Regions from separate parts of the Homo sapiens genome. Here region 1 is linked to region 2. The links are contacts of gene promoters, found by promoter capture Hi-C in blood cells and fetal thymus (Javierre and others, 2016). All regions are on one chromosome and are shown on one strand. The core of a region is centred on a gene start or on the middle of the fragment in contact, and the rest is flanking DNA. Distances in the headings are between cores, read along the strand shown. Region 1 holds the start of LOC124902704. Region 2 holds the start of GAL (galanin and GMAP prepropeptide).

What was found. Contacts are between HindIII fragments. The CHiCAGO score rates a contact against its expected background, and 5 or more counts as called.
Region 1: a contact is called between a fragment that was not itself captured here and the fragment with the promoter of GAL in region 2, in 1 of 17 cell types (total CD4 T cells). The highest score is 5.1, in total CD4 T cells.

Annotation. Positions count from the first base shown.
Region 1 is chr11:69,657,591-69,662,226 of GRCh38, forward strand. LOC124902704 reads right to left here and starts at 325. Exons shown (of 1, transcript XM_047427985.1): 1 at 1-325. The coding sequence starts at 325. RefSeq lists enhancers at 157-884, 3,264-3,764, 3,765-4,265. The HindIII fragment of the contact is 180 bases long and covers 1,396-1,575 here.
Region 2 is chr11:68,683,184-68,687,542 of GRCh38, forward strand. It overlaps GAL (galanin and GMAP prepropeptide), which reads left to right and starts at 1,361. Exons shown (of 6, transcript NM_015973.5): 1 at 1,361-1,549; 2 at 1,741-1,821; 3 at 2,411-2,465. The coding sequence starts at 1,741. All of the region lies in intron 2 of LOC107984343 (a long non-coding RNA gene), which reads right to left. RefSeq lists enhancers at 80-755, 1,432-2,107. The HindIII fragment of the contact is 13,008 bases long and covers 1-2,636 here.

The sequences.
Region 1 (4,636 bases), core at 236-2,735, 970 kb after region 2:
CTACAGGGCAGCCCCAAGCTGCTGGGCTGAGGTGCAGAGCCATGGGTCCAGCCTGACCCGCATGCCGGGAGCTGATTCCATGGCTGGAAGGGTCGGGGGTTCCCCAGGAGCCCAGACAGCACCTAGAGTTGTCACAAGGAGTGAAAGGCCCTGAGGGGACAGAGGAAGGAGGCTGGGCAGAGTGGGCACGTGGACTTCGGACCGCGCTTGTGGGATAACAGTGGCTAGGGCTGTGCAGAGGGTGGTGCACTGCCCATGGGAGTCCAGAGAAGCCAGGTCCAGTGGCAGTGGCATGCATCCGGCAATCCCTCCGGCTACCCTGCATGCAGCGTGACCCTCCTTGAAGCACCCCAGGAAGCAGTCACAGCCTCGCTCTGCCCAGCATTGGGGGCCTGGCCTCTGAATCTGGTGGGGAAGGCTGTGTTGCCTGCTGGCACCCGCTCTATCACCAGTCCCACCATAAGGCTAGTCCCCAAAGTCAGCACTGCAGCCAGGGCCAGCGAGGGCCAGCAAGGGCAGGCCTGTGCAGGGGCTGCAGCGTGGGGTGTGCGTCCCGCACTCTGGGCCAGCCTCGCAGCTCACAGGGCTCTGTCATCCCAGGAATGTCTTTGATCAAGAGTTTATGCAAGACGAGGAAAGCAAGCCCAGGACCTCTAATCCGTTCCCACAGTCCCCTGCCCGCCAGGGCCCCACAAGCCCAGCGCCACACCGCCAGGCCTGAGCAGACAATAGCAGGCGGACGGGTGGGCGGGCAGCTCTGGGGCCGCTGGCCTTGGGGCCCACATCCGGGAGCATTGTCACCGCCACTCACGAGGGCACACAAGGAGGGCTGGGGAAGAGAGAATGCAGAGCCCTCTGCTGAAGGGGCTTCGGTGGGCCTTGAGCCTTTCAAAGACGGCGGTGTCCATTAATCCTTTTAATTTGCACCTAGCGGCAGCTGAGACAAGCCTCTCAACCGGCAGCCACTTTAAGAGCTGAGTGGTCTAACCCGAGGATCAGCTCCTATTCCAGACCCTGGGCCCTCTGAGCCTGTCGAGGCAGTCCTCCTTGCCTTTGTTTAATCACGGGAGGAATCGCAGCTGGAGGTTACTGAGCACGCACTGTGTGCCTTGTGCTCAACACCGAACACAGTTTCTCTCTGAGTTTTGCAACGACCCCATGGGTTGGTGACAGGGAGGGGACACTCTGGTGGCAGCCACAGACACAGCCCTGCCCTCCCAGAGCCTACACTCTCCCGCACACAATCATCCCATCTGCTAGGTCAGGGATTGGCAGGTTTTCTGGAAAGGGCCACAGAGAGAGGCTTCAGGCTTTGTGGGCCACAGGTTCTCTTGCCCTGTGCAAAAGCAGCTGCAGCCGCTCTGTGAATGAGTGAGCATGGCTGTGTGCCAATAAAGCTTTATTTACAAAAATAGGCAGCAGACTGGATTCAGGCTGAGGGTGGTAGTTTGCCGACCCCTGTTGTAGATGAGTAAACCGAGGCCCAGAGAGGTAAAGTAACTGAGCCAGGACTGCACAGCTAGTGTGTGACCAAGCCAGCCTGGTGGGTCAGCCTCATGGAGAAGAAAAGGCTCAAGCTTCAAAAAGGGAAATGCACGGAGGCTTCATTGGGCCATTTGCAGCCAGGCCCCACGCACACAGCTCAGGGCCCTGCTTCGCCAGCTCCACCTGTTTCGAGGCTCCCAGTAGGTTGCCCCTGCGGGCGGCACTGTGTCTTGGCTGCTGGCCTGGAGAAGGGCAGCCAAACAGGCCGGCAGTGGACATCTGAGGGTGACCAGCTGTTTAAAAAGAAAACTCACCGGCATGTATAGGCACACATTAAGCACACACGTTTTGGAGTAAAAGGCCCTGGGGTTGGATCTCGGATCTGCAGCTTTCCAGCTGTGCGGCCTCATTTCTCTGGGCCTCAATGTTCACACCTATAACATGGGGAAATCCTGCAAGAACACAGCCCATGATGGGGAGTCGTCTCCATCTCCTACTCACGACAACGACCAGCACAGAACGGGGGCTCCATAAATCTCTGTCAATAACTGAATTCTTTCTGGGGTGCTGAGGATTCTATGGCTCAATGTGTGTGAAGCACTGCTGAGCACCGAGCTTGGGGTGCAGTGATCACTCAGGGAACGCCATCATCCCCTCGGCGCATCCGCATAATCACCATCAGCATTCCATGCACTGCCCAGGTCTGGAAGCACAGGCCTCCATGCCACGGCGGCCGCCTGGGTGGTGGCACCAAAGCCGATCTTACTTCCCTCCTTTGGCACATTAAGTAGACAGTTCTGGGTCTTCTTGACACCACGGATGCCCCCTCCTGGTGTTGACAGCACCCAGACTTTGCTCCAGGGAACCACCATTCCCAGATCTGTGGTTTGAGTGGGACCGAACCCATCCCCAGCTCCAGGCCAGGTCTTCATAGGCTGAAACCCAACTGCACATCCACACCCACCAGAAGAGCAGCAAGTTAATGGATGGGTGAGAAATCAAATAGAGCCATTGAGTCTTGAGGAGACATTTTCTGGAGCTTCTGAAAAAGATAATGCTTCCCCCTTCCTTAGGATTCCCAGCAGGGAAACACAAGCCCAGGGGTGGCACTGCCCCCCTGCAGCCCTAAGGGAAGACTGAGCTGCTCCCAGGACCTCACAGGGGAGGCTGAGCGTAAGGCCAGCCCTGAGGGAAAGCAGGGAATGGGTCTCCAGACAAACTGCTGGATCAAGCCTCTCCTGAAGTCATCCCCCTTTTGTTCCAGAAGCCAATCATTGTCCTTCATTAAGTCAGTTTGATATGGGCACTGTGTCATTTGGTTTTCAAAGACACTTAACTATTACAGCTTGTGTGTGTTTTCTTTTTTTTTTTTTGAGACGGAGTCTCACTCTCGCCCAGGCTGGAGTGCAGTGGCCTGCTCTCGGCTCACTGCAAGCTCTGCCTCCCGGATTCACGCCATTCTCCTGCCTCAGCCTCTCGAGTAGCTGGGACTACAGGCGCCCGCTACCACGCCCAGCTAATTATTTGTATTTTAGTAGAGACCGGGTTTCACCGTGTTAGCCAGGATGGTCTCGATCTCCTGACCTCGTGATCCACCCGCCTCGGCGTCCCAAAGTGCTAGGATTACAGGCGTGAGCCACCGCACCCGGCCGCTTGTGTGTGTTTTCTACCTCTTCTAGATCTAACATGTTATGATTGATATAAACAACAGGAGCGACTGACAAAGTTACCATGTGATCTTGGAATTTCAACATGCCTGTCTTGCTTAGCTGGGAGTTCCACAGGGTCAGGGAATGACTCCTCTTGGGGCCACCAGTGCCCAGAAGTATGCCTAGAACTGCTCTGTCTGAAGGGACAGGTCCCTCTTCCATGGCACACACTCTGTGTGTAACAGAGCACACGTGTGACCAAACTGACCTGGAGAAAGGGCCTGACCACATCCATATCCCAAGTTCTGAGGCCGGATAGTGCCTGCAGGGGCTGAGACCAGGGGAGAGGCTCAAGCCAGCCTTCTCTGGTGGACCCTGACTCAGTCCTCTGTGCAGGGCAGCTGCGCCTCCCAGAAGGCAGAGGCCTCTTGGAGAGTGAGCCTTGCGGTCACAGCGCCTTTCGGGGGCTCCCGCCACTTGCCCTCAGTGGCGGCTGAGACCTGGGGGAGTCCAGGCAAATCCCTGAGGAGGCCCCACATGCAAGGCCAGAAGTGTCTGGATGGTGTGGCCGGCACCCTTACCCTCCAGACCAGCAAACGAAGCCCAGGCAGGGAGAGGGGCCTTGTAGTTTTCTGTGGCTGCTGTAATGAATTTTCACACACTCAGCAGCTTAAAACAACCAACATTTCTCTCATAGTTCCAGAGGCCAGCAGTGTCTGCAGTGCCCGCTCTCTCCCAGCTTCTGGTGGTTTCGGGCGACCTTCGGCTCTTCTCAGCTGGTCCATGCGCAGCTCCAAACTCGGCCTCTGTCCTCACAGGGCTATCGGCCCCATGTCTTCACGTGGCAGTCTCTCCTCTGTGCCACTGGCTCCCGTCCCCTTAAAAGGACACCAGTCATATTGGACGAAGGGGCCACCCTACTCTAGTATGACCTCACCTTAACTTACATCTTTTTTTTTGGGGGGGGACAAAGTCTTGCTCTGTTGCCTGAGCTGGAGTGCAGTGACGTGATCTCAGCTCACTGCAACCTCCGCCTCCCGGGTTTAAGTGATTCTCTTGCCTCACTCAGCCTCCCGAGTAACTGGGAAATACAGGCACCACCATCATGCCTGGCTAATTTTTAAATTATTATTCTTTTTAGTAGAGAGAGGGTTTCACTGTGTTGGCCAGGCTGGTCTCCAACTCCTGACTTCGTGATCCACCTACCTTAGCCTCCCAAAGTGCTGGGATTACAGGCGTGAGCCACTTCGCCTGGCCCAATTTACATCTTAAAAAAATCTACAAAGACCCTATTTCCTATTTCCAAGTAAAGTCACAGAAGCTAAAGTACCAGAAGCTAGGACTTCAACGTTTCCTTTTGCGGATACAATTCAATTTGCAACAGACTTGGGCTCTCAAAGCCTGGAAGCAGCCTCCACAGTCCCCTCGAATTTCAGGGGCACATACTCACTGGAACCAGCAGAGGGACATCAATCCATGAGCCTCTAGCTCAGCAAGCATCA
Region 2 (4,359 bases), core at 111-2,610:
TGCAAAGGTTCCCAAGACTAAAGTGTAGAGGACAGGTAAGATGACACTGTCATGATCATCATTCGTCCTGTGCCCTGTGGACATCAACCCACAGATGTGACATCAACCCATCTGATATTGAGCCCAGTGGGTGGGGAGATCCTAACCCAGCTGCTGCTGTTGAGGACTTGGGTGGTGTCTGGCCAGTGGGAGGGGAGGTCAGGCGAGTTTTCAGCAGATGACCCCGTGCTCTTCGGAAGCCCGGAGGTGCCACACTGTACAAGTGTGATGCCTGGGATCCTGTGCTCCCCTGATGCCTGGGAATGGGGTGAAGGAACAGCCTAGGCTTGGGTTCTCTCCTGGGTTGTTTCGGGACTTGGCCCCAGCTCAGGAAGGGTTTGTGGAGGAGCCAAGGAGGGCCTTGTTCCTGTGGGATGTCTTTGCCTTGGGCACAAGGACAGCCTCTTGCTGCTGCTCTGCCCACCGCCCACCCCTTGGCGGCCTCTGGGAGTCTGGGCTGCTCTCCCTCTGGACCTAACCAGTTGCCCAATGGCTGGACCTGCTTAAAGCTCCCTCTTACAACTGGACCAGGCAGCCAGGGGAGGCACTGAGAGGCCGAGCTTCTGAGCTGGTGCCTGTGGATGCTCGACGGTCCCGCAGCTCCCACAATGGGATGGCCAAGCAGACCCTGAGATCCACAGCCCCCCTTTAGTGAAACAGGAGGGAGGTCGCTGGGCACAGGGAGCCGGGAACGCCTGCCCTCCCCGCCATCGACGGCTCCCGAGGCCTGAACCTTCGCTCCAGCCCCAGCACAAGCCGGCCAGGGCGCAGGGCCAAGTGTTGCCCGCCATTCCCCGGGTACCCCATGACCTCCCAGCTGGGGCTGGCTCGGACTGAGGAGTCGTCCCTGCCCGTCACCCTCTGGGGTCTCCAGTGCTGCGGAGCTCAGCTGGCTTTTGCAGCGGTAGGGGCTGGGAGGAGAAGCTGCAGGGAGACCGCAGGCGTGGGACGTTGTGGGGGGTCAGGCTTGCTCTGGGGCTGGGACCCCGGGGGGAGCAGTGGGGTTGACGCCACAGCGATGACTTGGGCCACGGGTCTGGGGGCTCTCCCGCGGGGCGATTGGGCTCTGTCTTTCGGGATTAGGGTCTCTCCCACAGGGTTTGGGGTTCTCTCTGCAGATTTGGGGGAGTCTCTCCCGCGGGATGAGGGGGGGCTCTCCGCCGCACCCGCCTATGATGGCCCAGAGGACCCGAGCTCGGGTCACTCCCGTCGCCCTCGGGGCTCGGCGAGGGTGCAGGAGGCGGGCGCTGAGCCGGTGACGCGACTCCGGGCGGCTCCCGGGTGCGCCGCATATATAGCAGCGGCGGCGGTGGCGGCGGCCACACCGGGCGGCGGACACGTGGAGGGACCCGGCCCGCGCCTTCTGCCCCTGCTGCCGGCCGCGCCATGCGGTGAGCGCCCCAGGCCGCCAGAGCCCACCCGACCCGGCCCGACGCCCGGACCTGCCGCCCAGACCCGCCACCGCACCCGGACCCCGACGCTCCGAACCCGGGCGCAGCCGCAGCTCAAGGTACTACTGGCGCCGGGCCGACCCTGCGCCCCCGGGAGGCCTCCCCTTCGGCTTTCCTCTGCCCAGGGACGGTTCTGCCAGGGCCCTGGCCCGGCCGCCGCCTCTGCTCCTCCCCGCAGCCCCGGCACTCCTTGCCTCGGGGCGCAGCCCACTCCGGGTTCCGACCCGCCCGCCCTGTCCTTCCCTTCCAGATGGCCCGAGGCAGCGCCCTCCTGCTCGCCTCCCTCCTCCTCGCCGCGGCCCTTTCTGCCTCTGCGGGGCTCTGGTCGCCGGTAAGTGCGGGGCGCGTCTCCTCCGAGCGAAGGGGACATCAGAGCCGGCCGGGCGTGGAGGGCTTCCTGGAGGAGGCAGCCTCCGCCCTGCCCGCGGGGATGGGGGTGGAAAGTGGAAAGGCGGGCGCTGTCCTGGCTGCGGGCGTCGCGGGAAGGGTCCGGGGCTCCCTGGGATTCCCCCCGCGCGCTTCTCCGAGTGTATCAACAGCCCCGGGCTATAACCAGGCCGCCGGGAGAGCTCTGCGCTTCGGGTCAGCGCCTCGGGAAAGCGAGAAGCTCGCCCGTTCCGCAGGGCTTAGTTAGAATGGAGGGCTAGGAGCCACTGGCGTGGCCTCAGCGTCACTAAAGCAGGTGCAGTGCGCTGAGAGTGCGCGGGCTCAGGCCCTCAAGTGAAGTATTTCGTAAATAAAGTGGTTCCATTTTCATGTCAAATATAGCCGACTTAGGGGTAAACCTGGAATTTCGCGAGCTATCCAAAAGCACATGCATTGTTCTAAGTCCTCTGCCATGCCGGGAAAGCCTGGGTGCACCCATTCAGCATAGGCTCCAGGCACAGCCCTGGCATCTGATCCCCTTTTCTCCCTTCAAGGCCAAGGAAAAACGAGGCTGGACCCTGAACAGCGCGGGCTACCTGCTGGGCCCACGTAAGTGACTGACAGCATGGCCTCCCCACTCCTGACCCCACCTGCCCCTCGCTTTGAACCCTGGCTCCTGCCCCTCCGCCTGCGGCTGGGCAGACCCTCTGGCCTCCCTCTTGACCTCATTGCCCGTCTCCATTGCTCTGCACACTTGATCTGTGTACGGTTCTTTCCAGAAGCTTCTCCTGCCCCGGCTCTGCCGCCCTGTCCCGGGGTGAGATTCCCACCCTGGGCTTTGCTCAAGTTCTCCTGGGCTTTCCCGCCTTGCAGTCCTTACAGGCCCTGTTCTGGGCCTCTCCCCAGGCCCCCGGGTCTCCCAAAACACTCAACTCCTCGGCTTGCAGAGCACCCTAGGTCAGCGGACCCCAAATCCTGCCTCCCTCTTCCCTTTCTCCAAGCTCCACACGGGAATTGCCAGATCGCCTGAAGGCAGCCCAGACAGGCTCCCCTCAAAACAAGGTTCAGGTGACCCTGCCTGCCCAAGCCTGTGTCCCCTCCCTCTCCCTGTCCTGTTGTTGTCACCTGTGTCAGCGGTGTCCCCTGCTGCCTGAGGTGAGCCCTAGCCCTAGATGGGACACTGCAGGCTGACACCTCCCCGTGTCCGCCCCCGCCCCTGTCCCAGGCCTCTACTTTCTCCACATCCTTGGTCTGTGCAGCAATGCCTTCTGACTTTCCTCCAAAGGAGGGGACAAGAGGAGGCCTTGGTTCCCTCCTGTAACTCACCTTCCCCTCCACACCTCACCATCCACCTTAAAAGCCTCCCTGTACTGCCTTCTGCCAGAGGAAGGATGTGAACAGCACGCAGGGCCTATCTGAGCCCCGCGGAGCAGCAAATGGGGAGAATGGTGCTCTTCTCCCCATGCCAAGGAAAGCTGACTTAGTTCTCAGTCCCAGAGTCGAATACAGCTTCCTCCTCCTGCAGACGCTTGTTTATCGGGGTCACTCAGAGGACCCCCAGAGTCAGGCTTTAAGAAACAGACACGGGGATGACAGAGCCGCCTGAGGCCGCGTGCGGATCGGTCCAGGCTGTTCACCACAGAGCCTGCTGGTCTCTGTGCGGCCCTCTCATCCTCTCCCTGCCCATGGAGTGGCCTGACCTGCCTGAGGGTCGGCTGATTTCCTCAACCCTTTGCAACCCTGAGCTCTGCCACTCAGAGGGCACCTCATCTTTGTGTGCTACGGGCCCAAAACAAAGGCAGAACTGGTCAATGAGAACATTTATCTGTGTTGCTTTGGAATATTGAAAATCTATTTGTCAAGAAGAGTTTGACCCCTAATTAGAAAACAAACTCATTTTCGCCATCAATTTTACGGCCCTGTTCAGCTGTAGCTAGACGAGTTGTTTGTCAAAATACTTAAAAATGTGCCTTTGATTTCTAGGATCTGCTAGAAATGCAGCAAAAGCAATGTTTTTGCACCAGCTGCTGCTGAACGCAGTGTGGCCGTGGCTGAGGGTGCATCAGTGACATGAGGCGACCTATGATTCCTCTATAAATTTAGCACCAAGAACGGCATCTCTGGAAATACGCGTTAATTCTCCTTTGTCTGGCCTTGTAGATGGCACAGTCCACCCAGGCCAACCAGCTGGAAACACAGAGGCGTCCTCACCCTCGTCCCCATCTCTCATTTCCATTTCCTTTCCTGCACAGCCCCAAATCCAGCCCTCCTCTTCACCCCACGCCTCTTGGTTTACAGCCTTCATCGTTTCTTCCCTGGAATTCTGGGATCTCTGTGCTTGCAATCACAGTTCCTCCATTTTCGCACCACGAAACACACCCACACACACACGGGAACGCACACACGCTCCTGCACCCCCCACCCCCATCCTGTCTCCCTCTGTGACCCTCTCGCTCCCTCTGTCTCTCTCCTTCTCTCTCTCTGGCTCCAGTCCATCTTGCAC